Linked DNA regions of Homo sapiens: all the other regions are linked to region 3. Evidence: promoter capture Hi-C in 16 types of primary human blood cells and fetal thymus (Javierre and others, 2016). All regions are on one chromosome and are shown on one strand. Each heading gives the region's core, a stretch centred on a gene start or on the middle of the fragment in contact. The rest is flanking DNA. Distances are from core to core; before and after follow the strand shown. Region 1 has its middle 52 kb from the start of CD83. Region 2 has its middle 33 kb from the start of CD83. Region 3 holds the start of RNF182 (ring finger protein 182).

Region 1 (4,579 bases), core at 294-2,793, 140 kb before region 3:
AATCCCAGCACTTTGGGAGGCCAAGGCAAGTGGATCACCTGAGGTCAGGAGTTCAAGACCAGCCTGGCCAACACGGCGAAACCCTGTCTCTACTAAAAATACAAACGATTAGCCTGGCATGGTGGCGGGCGCCTGTCATCCCAGCTACTTGGGAGGCTGAGGCAGGAGAATCGCTTGAACCTGGGAAGCAGAGGTTGCAGTGAGCTGAGATCACACCACTGCATTCCAGCCTGGGAGACAGAGCAAGACTCTGTCTCAAAAAAAGAAAAAAAAAAAGAAATCCGTTACAGCTTTGAGCTTCAGTTTCCTCATCTTTCAAATGATGGCTACAACTGCAAAGGTTTATTTTTCAAAACATGTTCTCTCCCTGTCTCTCTCTCTCAAATTCCTTCTTCCTTATTTTGACAGCTACTACATTTGAGCTTTTTAATTTGAATATTATTGGATGGTAACCCACTTACAGAGATAGGAAGTTGGACGTCTTGAAGAAAGGAATTTCATCTTAAAGTCCATTATATTTTTAATCTAAACTGCTTGGACTAAAACAGCTTGCTTTAGGACAGGGCTGGGCGTGACTTTTTATTTTGCTTTGTTCTCAGTTTTGCTTTATCTAGAATCTGTGTTTCAATATATCAGCTCTAGGTGGCAGTAATGTACCATGAAGATGTGTGCTTTACCAGGTAGCAGGCTGCCAAGTTTCAAGTCTTGAGGCTTGAGGTGGAAGAGAACCTTAAGGAAAATTTTAATGGGATTACTGGGTGCCAGCGCTATCTAGACACTCTGTGAGCAGGTCAACTCACGACTGTTGTCCCCTGTGACTACCTTGGAGGAAGGAAGGAAAGCTACAGGCTCATGAATACATTACATGAAGGATGCAATGAAATATTTTATGGTATAGGGATTTTTCCAAACCTGTGCTCTACATATACTCTGTCTCTGTCTCTCTCTGTCTCTCTCTCTCTCTCTCTCTCACACACACACACACACACACACACACACACACACACACATTGAGATAAGAGAAGCTACTTCTTCAAAACAAGGTTTGTTTATATAATCAACTCATGACCCCTCTCCTCTTCTTTTTTCCTTTCCTAACTCTAAAAAAAAAATAATTTTACTATCCATTTGTCTCTAAGGTGAATGAGCTAAGACACAGTAGTAATGTATAGTACTACAGTAGTCACATATAGTAAGCATATGTGTATATACTGAAGAACGTGAGCCTGAGGGGAGAGCACATTTGAGGGACAGTGTATTGTTCATTATTCATTCCTTTGGATTTCTTTTTTGTTTTGTTTCCGTTTGTTTTGTTTTTTTTCTTTTTTGAGGCTGAGTCTCACTGTATTGCCCAGGCTGGAGTGCAGTGGTGCAATCTTGGCTCACTGCAACCTCCACCTCCCAGGTTCAAGCTATTCTCCTGCCTCAGCCTCCCGAGTAGCTGGGATTACAGGCACGCACCACCATGCCTGGCTAACTTTTGTATTTTTAGTAGAGAAGGGGTTTTACCATTTTGGCCAGGCTGGTCTCGAACTCCCGACCTCAAGTGATCCACCCGCCAAGACCTGCCAAAGTGCTGGGATTACTGGTGTGAGCCACCGCACCCGGCCTTGTCTGGATTTCTTTACAAGAGTTTACGTAGCCATTTCCTCATCTGTAAAATGAGACTAATAGTTCCACCTTCGTATGGTTGTGATGAGGATTAAAGTGGTCCACAGATATACAGGTGATGAGCTGCCTGATGCATACACAGGAAGCTGCATGTGGACGCTAGCTGTGACTACTGTCACTATTACCCAAGGCTCTTTGCTTTTTCAAGTTTTTGTTTAAAGTTTTTTGGAGAGACGAGGTCTCACTATGTTGCCCAGGCTAGTCTCTAACTCCTGAGCTCAAGTGAACCTCCTGCCTCAGCCTCCCCAAAGCCCTTTGCTTTTTATCTGAAGGAGTAGAGAGGCGATCTGGGCACAGCCACCTAGGGAGAAATGAAAAGGAATACAGAGAAACACACCACACATACCCACCCCCCCCCACACACACAAATACACACACACACAGACAGAGATACACACACACACACAGAGACAGACATAGATACATACACACAGGGACACAGAAACACACAGATATACACACAGAGGGACACAGAGACAGACACAGATACACACACACAGGGACACACATGCATGCACACACACAGCCTGTACAGAATATAGGGAGATGTGAAACCCCATCCATAAGGCTGCTAAAGGCAGCTAAAAGGGGGAAGATGAAAGTGTAAAGGAGGTGTGGTAAGGTCTTGGCTAATTTACCTTGTTAGGATGGATGAATAGTAAAACTGGTTTTTTAGGGTTAAGAAAGATAAAGGGAGAGAGATGATCATGAGCTGATCATAGGAAAAAACTCTGTTTTGGGAAAGCAACTTCTCTTTTTTCAGTATCTGGGGTTCTTGGGATATGTGTAGTAGTGCATGACAGCACAGCCGAACACACTGAGAGTGGCCTTTCTTTATAGGAACGGAGGCACTGTCCCACGCTGCGACTCTGTCGTGAGTGAAGATGGGTGGTGTGGAATCAGAACAGATTTGCTCTGCCAGAGACCCTTGTGTAGTCCTCCAGTATTCCTTTGGGGTCATGTGTTGATTTATGTCTCTGACTTTGAGACAAATACATGAAAATCCAAACTTAAAAATCAAAAGTGAGTGAGAGACTCTTCAAGTAGGAAGAAAATTCTACACTTTACAAAATAATTCACTACTGTACTCCCTTAAATCACTGATGGAGGATATGATTACATTTCCGTAACACCTCACAGAACTGTAGTAAGGGGCCATTGTATCCAAGATCTTTTCTTTCAAGTGGATTCCTTAGAAAGCAAAAAGGTTTACAAAAAGAATTATTCCCATGAAGATTAGTCAGTTGATATGATCCATGCAGATACTGTCTCGGAAGCAAATGTTCATGTAGCTGGTAAATTTCTGACATGATGGGAAAGGTTTCTGGGTGTCCTTCAATTATCTTCTCTCTTCTCTTCCCATTCTTTATTTATTTATTTATTTTTGAGAATGAGTATTCCTCTGTCATCCAGGCTGGAGTGCAGTGGCATGATCTTGGTTCACTGCAACTTCTGCTTCCTGGGTTCAAGCAATTCTCCTGCCTTAGCCTCCCCAGTAGCTGGGATTACAGGCATGTGCCACCACACTCGGCTAATTTTGTATTTTTAATAGAGACAGGGTTTCACCATGTTGGCCAGGCTGCTCTTGAACTCCTGACATCAGGTGATCCTCCTGCCTCAGCCTCCCAAAGTGCTGGGATTACAGGCGTGAGCCACCATGCCCAGCCCCCCATTATTTATTATTATTATTATTATTATTAATTTTGTGAAAATTTTTACCCCTGTGACTAGGGGAAGACAGAATTTTAACCCCTATATTCCAGCAGATGTGGCTTTCCAAAAGCAATGGTGAGGTTGAATGAGGAAAGAAAGGATGAAAGCTTTCCACTCTCAGGAGGCTGCATGCTTTGAGCTTCCTAAGAAGTACTAAAGGTAGATATCACGGCTCAAGCTTCCAGACTGCTTCACAATTGCAAATAAAGATCTGAAAACTTGTTCTTTTACACTTCTTGGGAACGTTTTTAATTAAATCAGTGGTCAAATTTGCAAATATTCTCCATCGGAAACTTTTGTTTGGCAGGAGCTGCAAACTGTGATGTCAGCCTCTGATTTGAAAACCTGGCCCTTCCAAGAGAATAATAGAAGTTATAAAGAAAAAAGAAATGTGTCTGTGCCAAACCAACAAAAAAGAATAAAAGTTTATAAGATTCTAAATTGAATTTGCTTTTGTCATTTCCCCAAAAGATGTTAGGAAGAATACCAACTTGCTTTAGAGGTTAACCAATTAATTAATGTGGAAAGCTGAAAATATATTATCTCAAGATTGCTGTGTAGTTTATTAGCTGAGAAATATGTTTATTTTTTGCTTTCTAGATACTGTGGAGGAAAGACTGTGCCTTCTTCTTATTTTCTATTGCTTATTTTGAGACCCCATTGCCCAGGCTAGAGTGCAGTGATGATCATAGCTCACTGCAGCCTCAAACTCAGAGGTTTAAATGATCTTCCCACTTCAGGCTCCCAAGTAGCTGGGACTACAGGTGCACACCACCACACCTAGCTAATTTTTTAATTTTGTTATGTTTTATAGAGATGGGGTCTCTCTATATTGCCCAGGCTGGTCTCAAACTCCTGGCCTCAAGCAGTCCTCCTGCCTTGGCCTCCCAAAGTGCTGAGATTACAGGCATTAGCCACTGTGCTGGCCACCTTACTGTATCTATTCGTGTGCTGTTCAGAGTATTTAATTAAATGCTTGTTGATCTGATTTGCTGGAAGTCTAGAAGTCTTTGGCATGAGATAATATATTAGAAAGAGGGCTGGATTGAGACTTTAAAGATCCAAGCCTCATCTTATCTTTGTTGCACCTTATTTTTGTAGAACAATTTATAGTTTACCAAGATCTTAGAGTACATATAAAACCAATTACATTTGATCATCATAGCTACCCTGTAACATAAAAGACAGTATTGTT
Region 2 (4,889 bases), core at 998-3,497, 230 kb before region 3:
GCAGGCACCTTTAGCTGCAGTAACTGGGACTCGTTCAATTTATCTCAAGAGAAGGGAGGTTTTGTGGAAGGGTCTGGATCAGACCCGGAGACCTCAGCAAATGAGGCAGGTCTGGGGGTATCCATCTCTCTCCAACCCTATTTATTTCTGTATATCCTCTTCATTTTCACAGTATTGACTTTATTATCTCTTCTCTAGGGCCAATTTCTCCAAAATTTGGAAGGTCTATAAACATCTTAAAACTGTAAGCAAATTGTTCATTTATGCATTTCTCTGCAAGGGGAGTCTGTAGCTTTTGTAAGATTCTCAGGGTAATCTAAGATACAAAAGAAGCCCAAAACCTCCTCCTTATCTCTGTCTGTCTCTCTCCAGAAAGAAAGAAGCCTTGGCTTGCCTCAGCCCCACCTTAACCCCACAATATCCATTCACTTCCCGATCACTTGCAAATTACAAAATTCTTTTTATTTTCCTAGTTCAGATTTTAAAATTAGAGGATATGATTGATCCAGTTTTTTTACATTAGGCCAAAGTTAATAGGATTATTGCTGTGGAGTCAGGGTTAGCTAGCAAGGGGGTGTGATGACAGAATATAAACCCAGGCTGCCTGAGAAGGAGGTTAGGTAAAGAAGCTTCCCTTGGAAGGGATGCGGTGCAGACAGGATGGAAGGTAAAGGCTTGGCCTACGCAGCATGCCCGTTACCATTAAAGAGGAGTAGATTGTGTATCCCACATATTGTGTGAGATGATCAATAGCTGGCTGGTTGCAATTACCCAAAGAGATTGGATTACAGGATTGATATTAAACTGGAAGATATCTAATGGAATGCTACAGATTTTGTAGAAGATCCCAACCTTATCTTTTCAACATTTATGTTAATTAAAGTTTATCAAACATGAATATCAAATTTGAAGCTGGGGGTGACATAATATATTGGAAGACAGAGCTGAGTCTCAAAACGATCTTGGCAAGTTGGAACAAGAGATCAAAACAAACAAGATTAAATTTAGTGGGGCTGAATATAAAATATTGTATTTAGAATTATTAAATTCAAACACACAACTACCACATCAGGAAGAAGTGGCCAATTATATGTTCATATATAGCTTTAAATAATCTCTAACCAATTTGATCCCAAAGAATAAGGCAATTGCTGAAGAAAAAGAAGAAAAAAAAGAAAGAAGACAGAGAGAAGAAGCAGAAGCAGGAGGAAAAGGAGGAGGAATAGGAAGAAGGAAGAGGAAGAAGGAAGGAGGAGGAGGAAGAAGAAGAAGGAGGAGGAGGAAGAGGAGGAGGAGGAGGAAGAGGAGAAGGGGGAGGAGGAGGGGGAATGTCCTGTATTAATAAATGTTTAAATGCCCAGATCCAAGTGTGGTGCTCCATTATTCATTGCTCAGAGGGCATCTGCATTCAGTGTCTAGCTGCTGGGGCCCTATTTGGAAAGATCCAGTAAACACAATATACTCTGCTCCTTAAGACAGCCTGCCTGGGCTGGGCACGGTGGCTTATGCCTGTAATCCCAGCACTTTGGTAGGCCAAGGTGGGTAGATCTGAGGTCAGGAGTTTGAGACCAGCCTGACCAACAGGGAGAAACCCCGTCTCTACTAAAAATACAAAACTAGCCAGGCATGGTGGTGCATGCCTGTAATCCCAGCTACTTGGAAGGCTGAGGCAGGAGAATTGCTTGAACCCGGGAGGCGGAGGTTGTGGTGAGCCAAGATCATGCCATTGCACTCCAGCCTGGGCAACAAGAGCAAAACTCCTTTTCAAAAAAAAGGAAGGAGGGAAGGAAGGAAGGAAGGAAGGAAGGAAGGAAGGAAGGAAGGAAGGAAGGAAGGAAGGGAAAGAAAAAGATAGCCTGCCTGGCTTCGACTTGGATTTCCTCCTAAGTTATTTTCTCTTAAATTACTTGCTCATGCTCTATTTGTTCCAGTCCATAGGCACATGATGCCCTTCTCCTGTGCCTGCTGAAGTCCTAGCATCTCCCCTCCAGGGACTGCAGTGAGCTCACACAACCCTGGACTCAAACTCTTGTCATCATGATCTTGCAATGATGCCCACTCCACGCCTTGAAACAGACTCCCAGAAGTGCCAGTGAGCAAACGTGAGGATGGGTTGTTTAGTCTTCATGGTGGCAACAACAGAAGAAACTGAGGTACAGAGTCATATCTCAAAGTAAGTGACCAGCACAGTTAGGATTCAGACTCCACATATTTGACCCCAAAGGCATGGCCACCCCTCATCCACTTTTTTCAGCTCCCCTTTGAGCTATGGCAACACAAAATCCAAGAAATCGATTTTTGAATAGTCTGTTTTGACTCTTTGGAATCCTCCCTTCTCCTTTCTTATCCTTCAGGCTGTCAGTCCCCATCTGCTCTGCCCCCAAGACCCCAGCATCTCCCCCTACTTCCCCCCTTCCCTCATACAGAGTCAACATTGTGACTGACACTTTTGTTTGCATGAACCCTCGCTTGAGTAGATAACCTCTGCTCAAAGAACACCTTGAGATGCAGATAGTTTTGGTCACAGTTTGGAAAGAGCAGGGGGTTGTGCCCCCAATGGTTTGGCTTACCAAGCAAACTTGCCACATAAATCTGAGTAACCCACACATCATCAGTGATATCAACATGCTCCCAAACCTAGCTGTGGAGGTCCAAAGATTGGCACATTTCCTTCCACATGGGATGAAATTGAGCCACGTCAGAAATTAGGTTAACTGCATGCATGAGAGCTGTGCAACAAATCAGATAAAATCCTCCAGGGTCCCAGGCTTGTGAAGGAGGGCCTCAGATGGAAGAAGAAACCACAGCTGTGTCCATGTTCAATGTCCTGGTGTTGATTGTGTAGGGGTAGTAAGAGTCAGAAGGGAGGCCAAGGTCATGGGCAACGAGGCAGTCAGGTGGAGCTGGCACAGCCATGGGAGGAGCATGAACCGAATAGACAAAGTGTACCATCCAACAGAGCATAATGCTCATGCTGGGCAAATGAGATACCACCAGGGAGGACCAGCCCTTCCCCTGACAGCAAAACGATAGGGTAGGAACACCTGGTCCCAAGCAGAGATTCGGTCAGGCCTGGGTTCTATGGGGCCCATGGGCCAGGAGGCTGGCCTCATTGGGCAGAGCATGCAAACCCTGCATAGTCCTGTTTCCTTTCCTCCAACCTACCAGCCAGGCCAAGTGTACATTTTCAGGCTAATGATCTATGAGGCTGCCAAACTAAACTTCATTTTCTGTTTGAAAGATTTTTCCAGTTTGGGGCCAGGCGCAAGGCTTGGCAATTTTACCCAGAGTTCTCCTTACACATGCAGTAATAACAATTAACCAAAAGCAACTGTGTGCCTTAGGGTATCCAAGCCCCTAGAATGTGCAAATGAGTCCCAAGGCAAGCGGGGAGTCAGGCGGGGGCACATCTGCTCATTTTCCTTTCCAAAATCATTGCAGTGCTAAGATCCCTTCCCCGCTTGCCAGGAAAGCGCTGCCCGGTGACTTGTTGCTGCCAGCAGTGGCTGCACATGGCCCCCTAAGTAGCAATTTAGGGCGATGTCCCATTTGCCAAAGAACAGTTACATACATTGACTAGTAGTACAGTTCAGACTTCTGTGGTTTGTGTGTACTTAAATAAAAATTACAGTCCACTCTTGGAAAGCATAATGAAAACTTGGTCTTTTTTAAGGATTCTAAGCTATTTAATTGGTCCAAATAACATCTGTCCCTGAACCTTACACCATTACCTACCAAGTCACGGAGGAGATGCAGGTAATGTGGTTACTGCCTCCACAAGAGGGTGACATCACTCACGCCTTGTTAAGTGGGTCCTTCTGTTCTCTAGTGTCAATCCCTGGTTGCTTCCTTTCACAAAGCTTCTTATCCAACACACTATCATTGTCATTAGTCAACTAATTAAAATGCCTATTAACATGGAGAATCATAAAAAAGATTAATACGTACAACCAACATTTGACTTTAACCTAAAAATAAATGTACCTTAATTTGCCAGTTTTTCCTTGTGCCAACAATCCCCGATCCCTCTCTGACCAAAGTCAACTAAAAAAGAAAGAGAAACTTAACGCAACACTTCCCCAAACCTAAGTTCCTTGACTAATCATAAAATAATCCTGGGCTTAAAAGTCACCTGAGAGATTAGCTCATTCCACTCCTTTAACAGAACTGAAAATAATGTAAAATTTTTTATCATTTTACAGAAGAGAAAAATGAAGTCAGAACAAGGATGTTAGCAAAACTGAGAGAGTTGTGAGTGCTTGCAGCAAAGGGGTTACCGATGCTAAATAAGCTCATCTGCTCTCTAGAACCCCAGACAGATTCACGAATTACAGGCCCCGCTAGAGTGTCATTGAAGGTGGGAGACAGGGCATTGAATCAATCAGGAAGATTGATTAGATGTCACAAAAGAGGCAGTAAGACTTCCCAACTTGTCCAGTGGGGTAACTGGTCCCCATGCCCACTGCCACCAGGATATGCAGGGGTCTTATTTGGGGGATGACATGGACAAGCTCCAGGCTCGAGGCTACCAGGCAGGTCAGAGGGCAGGGGCTGGTGCCCCGCTGACATCAGGGCAAGGAGTAAAAAGCCCAGATGCTGGACCCTAAGACCCCACCACCATGCTGCCTGGGCAGAGCTCAGGCAGTCACCCCCAGGCAGGAGACTGGAGCGAGACTGGAGGTATGATGTGTGCAAAGCCGCAGAGGCTGAGACTGAACTGCAAACAACCAGGCAGGGAGAGCATGAGCCCTGAGCAGGGAGGTGGGCAGAATTCCAGTGAGGGTGGGAGACCAGAAGGCTCTAAAAAAGTGAAATGGCATGGCCAAACCAGCACTGGAACAGGATCGCTCTGGCAGCAGAGGGGCTCTAAATAATGAAGGAGGTAACAC
Region 3 (4,841 bases), core at 70-2,569:
AGTGGTACTGTTTTCATTAATTACTCTCTAGCAAAAATATAATTTCTTGCATTCCATATAGTTCTTTAAATGACCTATTCCAACTTATACATTATTTTACTAAGTTGGATATACAATTTTATATGTTAGATTATTTTCCAGTTATCAATATGACATCTCATATTGTTTAAATATGATTTAAAACAAATCTTATTAACATATATACAATTTCCTTCTGAATTGATCAACTGTATTTCTGAAAATGTATCTGTTTTCTTTCATATTACTACATGTAAGATGATGTCTAAGTACCAAAAAAAAAAGTCTTCACAGTCACAATTTAAATCTGTGCTTCGCGTCTGCAACAAACTATCACGAAATGATTGCAAGGGTTGGGGCCACTGAGAAAGGTACCTATAACCTATCCAGTGCCCCAGTGGCAACCGCATCGTGGTCCTCATCATCCCACTCATAAACACCGATGCAAACACCGCCCAGCTACCTGCCTCCAGAGGTGCTTTGGATTGCCTCCCTACACATAAAAACAAAAGGCACTTTCCAGTTCCTTACAGCATGAACACAATACCTTCTAGAAACAAAAGCAATGACCTCGGTGCCAAGTATCTCCTTGACAAAGTATCGGTACTGCTCTACATTCTGGTCTTGCTAGTCGGGGAAAGCCGGGCTACCCTTACCATCCAGTTATAGGTGCAACTGCACCTTCCAAAGAAAAAAAGGTCTTTCGATTCAATATCCAAACGAACTTCAGAAGCCTCCTCAAAATGCTTCAGCCACAGGCATAAAAATGGGCTCACTTTTCAGAGATTCGTAAAAATCTTTCGCTTGTCCCTCTTACTACCCTCCCAACCCCTCCTCAAAGAGAATGCCATGAAACATGAAAGTCCAAAGGTAAATACTTTCATACCTTTTTTTCCCCCAAAAGCCTCGATGGCACGCCAAGAAGGAAAATAACAACAACAACAGAGGGGCAGCTCCCTGAGCAGGTGCAGCCCGCGCGGGCGCTCCGCAGCCGCCCTCCGCCGCACAGCCCCTCAAGTTGGTGCCAGGACGGCGGCCCCCGTGGTGCCCGGAGGGAGACTCCGCGCGCGGGCCCCGGCGCCGCTCGGCCCGAAGTTTGCCGCCCCCTCTCCTCGGCGCGCTTGGGCGGCCCGGCGCCGTCCAGGACTGCGGGGCTGGCTGCTGCCCCAGCGTTGGGGAGGCCCGGCGTCCCGCCGACCCCTCCCCGGCCGCGGGCGCGATCGCCTTACCTGGCCGGCGGCGGCCCAGGGCCCGGGAGCCGCTCCGGCTGCGGCGGCGCCTGGGAGGGGAGGGAGGTTCCCGTGGAGGAGGAGCTCGCGCGAGGAGCTAGCGGGCTGGCGGGCGGGCGGCTTTGTCTCTACGGCGCTGAGCCGCCGACCCTGCGTCACCATGGCAACCGCCGGGGCCCCCCCGGCCCTTCCCCTCAGCAGTCCGGGTATTCGGAGAGGACAAGGACCCCCGATGGGCCGCCACCACCACAAACACGCCCCTCTCTCAGTCTCCCTCACAAACCGCCTGTTTCTCCCCAGCGAGAGGGGAAGGCTAAAGCGGAGCGAGCCCAGGGCCAAGTGGTATTCGCATCCTAGTAGGCACTCCTTTGCTTCCCCACACTGGACATTCCAACTCCCGTCGCACCACCATCCCCCCCACAGACACCCTCCACCACTACCACCACCACACCTTTCTCCTGTGGAGCTGTACCCTCAAAATGGAAATTCACTTAAGGGAGGAGAAAGAGCAATGCAAAGTGATAAAGTGTTGAGCAACTGGTACTCGGTTCTCCTGTTGCAACTGCCGCAGCATGCACGGAGCTGCCAAGGGACGCCGTGCCGCCTCCTCCCTCTCCCCCTCCTCCTCCTCTCTCTTTTAGCAAGCTTTGCCTCTGCTGGATGTGGTCTCACTCCACCCAACCCGTGTATCTGTCTTGTTGAGGGCTCCCGTAGGAGAGAGGGGAAAGGGGGCTTTATCTCTGATGTAAACACTGGATACACTTGTAACCTCAGAAGCTGAAACACAACTTTCAGGCTGCAGTATGGATCTCAGCTGCTGCCACACTGCGCAGCTACTGGCTGTGACCGCTAAGCATCTACCATGAGCCCTGAGTGACTCTGTGCCAAGGACTGGTCACGTACTGCAGGCCATGGCACTCAGGAGCAGAGAAAAGAAAGCTAACTTTTTCCTCTCCTGAGGAAATTCTTAGAGAGGGAGAGAAAAGTACCAGCAGACCCTTGGTCATGCTTCCTCTAAAGGACGAACTAGAGGGCAGCCTCCATGGGGGGAGTGAGTCATCCCTCCATACTGTTTTCTTGAAAGATCCGTTGCTGAATCCAAAAGCTACAGTGTCTTTCTTCAAACCCTGGGGAACATGACATTTATTTTTTGGCATTTGTGAATCACCAAAGGAATGTCAATGATTTATAATAAAATCCACGGTAGCTGATGTTTTCTGGGTTTACTACTTGAGAAGCCACAAAGCAGAACAATGTTATTGCCATTTGAAGGTACACCTATATTAACTAATGAAAAGATAAGATCTATTTCATGGTGGAAAAGGAAAACAGTTTGTTCCTCGGAGAGACTGGCCACTTTCTTGTAATGGGAATATTCTGAATGAAGTCAATAATATTCCAGATGAAGTCAAAAGACAAGGTCTTTTTGGCAGGCCATTAAGCATTTGGCAATACCTGCCAGAATTCAAAATGCACATACATTTCTCCCAGCTATCTCAATTCTAGAGATCTGTCATACAGAAACACACAAATGTGTAATGATAGATATAAAAGGATATGCATTGCAGAAGTTTTGTAATAGTAAATGTTTGAAACAACTTATATGCCCATCAATAGTGATATGGTTAAATAATGTGGCACTTCATACCATGTAATACTATGCATCCATTAATAAGAATAAAATATATAAAATTCATAGATATTGATTTCTTATTAAATGGAAAAGGGGGGCTCAGAACCGTATGTGTGGGTGATCCCATTCTGTACAAAAAAACTGGATATATAGGAACAGAACAAAAACATAGGGATAAAGGTCTATAAGAATGCCTACCTAATTGCTAGAAGTGGTAACCTGTTAACTACAAAAAAAATTGAAGGGACAGTTACCTCTTACGATGTACAATTTAGTACACATATTTGGTTTGTTTGGCTTTTTCAAATGAGCATTTATTAGTAATTTATCAATGAAGAAGCAAAAACAAAAAGCTTTAATAAATGTTTGTTGACCTGCATGCACATTACTGCCTGATCAAAAACTGAATACAGAACAGGGAGGGACCATTGACTTGGCCATCCCTGCCCTCAGCTGAAGGCTTGGAAAAGTCCACGTTGTGTCCCCACTTAGAGCATTGCTTAGTGACCTGGTCCTGCGTTATTCTGTGAGACATTCTTCCAGACATTCATTTTTCCAAAAGAGGTTTAGCTTTATCTTAAGGTCTGCTTCCATTCTGCCTCTTGGAGAAAATTAAAAGACTTGTCAGGAAACCATCTTAAAATGTGCCACCTTACTTACCAGGGGATATCATTTGAATAGGTTAAGTGGCAGCTTTTAGTCTGTTTAGCTAAACTGAAACTGAAGATACTAAAGCTTAAAAATTAATGTGTGGATACATGACTAGTCTTTCTTATTCTCACCATTTTTGAAATGAGGTTAAAATAATGAATTTGCTTTCCTAAAAAGATCTAGAGCTGCACAGTCTAATTCAGTAACTGCTAGCCACATATGAATTAGCTACTGAATTGGTATGTTCAGTAAGTGCAAAATACACACCAGATTTCAAAGACTTGGAACAATAACTTTAAAAAAATAATATCTTATTAATAATGTTTATATTGGTTACATGTTAAAATATATTTTGAATTTATTGAGTTAAATAAAAGATGTTATTAAAATCATTAACTTTTGTTCCTTTCCACTTTTTTAACATGATTATTAGAAAATTATAAATTATATATGTGACATTTTGGACAGCTCTGTTTTAGAATTAGTGTTTATAGCAAAATATCATTAAGAAATCTAAAGTTAGCTATTCTTCTTAACTTTTAGTTAAAATGTAATTACCTTATTAATGCTCCCCAACTCATAAAGATGCCACAGTATGGCAATTTCTGTTAAATAATTTCAACTTATTAGAATCCTATTATATGCAAGCATTAGCTTATGCTTTTATATTTTAGAAAGATTTTAGCACAGACACTAAAGTCAGATTACCTGGACCTGAATCTCAGCTCTGTTTATCAACTACATGACCTCAGCAAGCAATTTAATACATCTGTTCCTCAGTTTCCTTACCTATAAAATAGGGATTATAATAATACTTACCTCCTTGAGTTGTAAAAATTAGATGCTTGATTGTCTACAATGCTGAATAAATGTTAACTATTATTACTTTTATTATTATACTTTGTTGGTTCTCTCACTTTTTTTTTTTTTTTGAGACGGAGTCTCACTCTGTTGCCCAGGCTGGAGTGCAGTGGCACAATCTCCACTCACTGCAAGCTCCTCCTCCCAAGTTCACGCCATTCTCCTGCCTCAGCCTCCCGAGTAGCTGGGACTACAGGCGCCCACCACCACGTCCGGCTAATTTTTTGTATTTTTAGTAGAAATGGGATTTCACCATGTTAGCCAGGATGGTCTCAATCTCCTGACCTCATGATCTGCCCACCTCGGCCTCCCAAAGTGCTGGGATTACAGGCGTGAGCCACTGTGCCTGGCCAGCTCTCTCACTTACTCTACTAACCTTCAATTCAAGTTAGTCTATATATGTATATATAAATCTTTCATCTATATATAGAGATAAATCTCTCATTTTC

What was found. The method cuts DNA at HindIII sites, captures the fragments that hold promoters and counts their contacts. A CHiCAGO score of 5 or more calls a contact.
Region 1: a fragment that was not itself captured here is called in contact with the fragment with the promoter of RNF182 in region 3 in 2 of 17 cell types (endothelial precursors and total B cells); the score reaches 7.4 in endothelial precursors.
Region 2: a contact is called between a fragment that was not itself captured here and the fragment with the promoter of RNF182 in region 3, in 2 of 17 cell types (total B cells and naive B cells). The highest score is 5.5, in total B cells.

What each region holds. Positions count from the first base shown.
Region 1 is chr6:14,063,060-14,067,638 of GRCh38, reverse strand. No RefSeq gene overlaps it. Among named protein-coding and RNA genes, the nearest start is that of CD83, 52 kb to the left of the region's middle. The HindIII fragment of the contact is 3,900 bases long and covers 1-3,493 here.
Region 2 is chr6:14,148,443-14,153,331 of GRCh38, reverse strand. No RefSeq gene overlaps it. Among named protein-coding and RNA genes, the nearest start is that of CD83, 33 kb to the right of the region's middle. The HindIII fragment of the contact is 3,231 bases long and covers 632-3,862 here.
Region 3 is chr6:13,921,430-13,926,270 of GRCh38, reverse strand. It overlaps RNF182 (ring finger protein 182), which reads right to left and starts at 1,319. Exons shown (of 3, transcript NM_152737.4): 1 at 1,248-1,319. RefSeq lists an enhancer at 1,924-2,424. The HindIII fragment of the contact is 2,801 bases long and covers 1-1,894 here.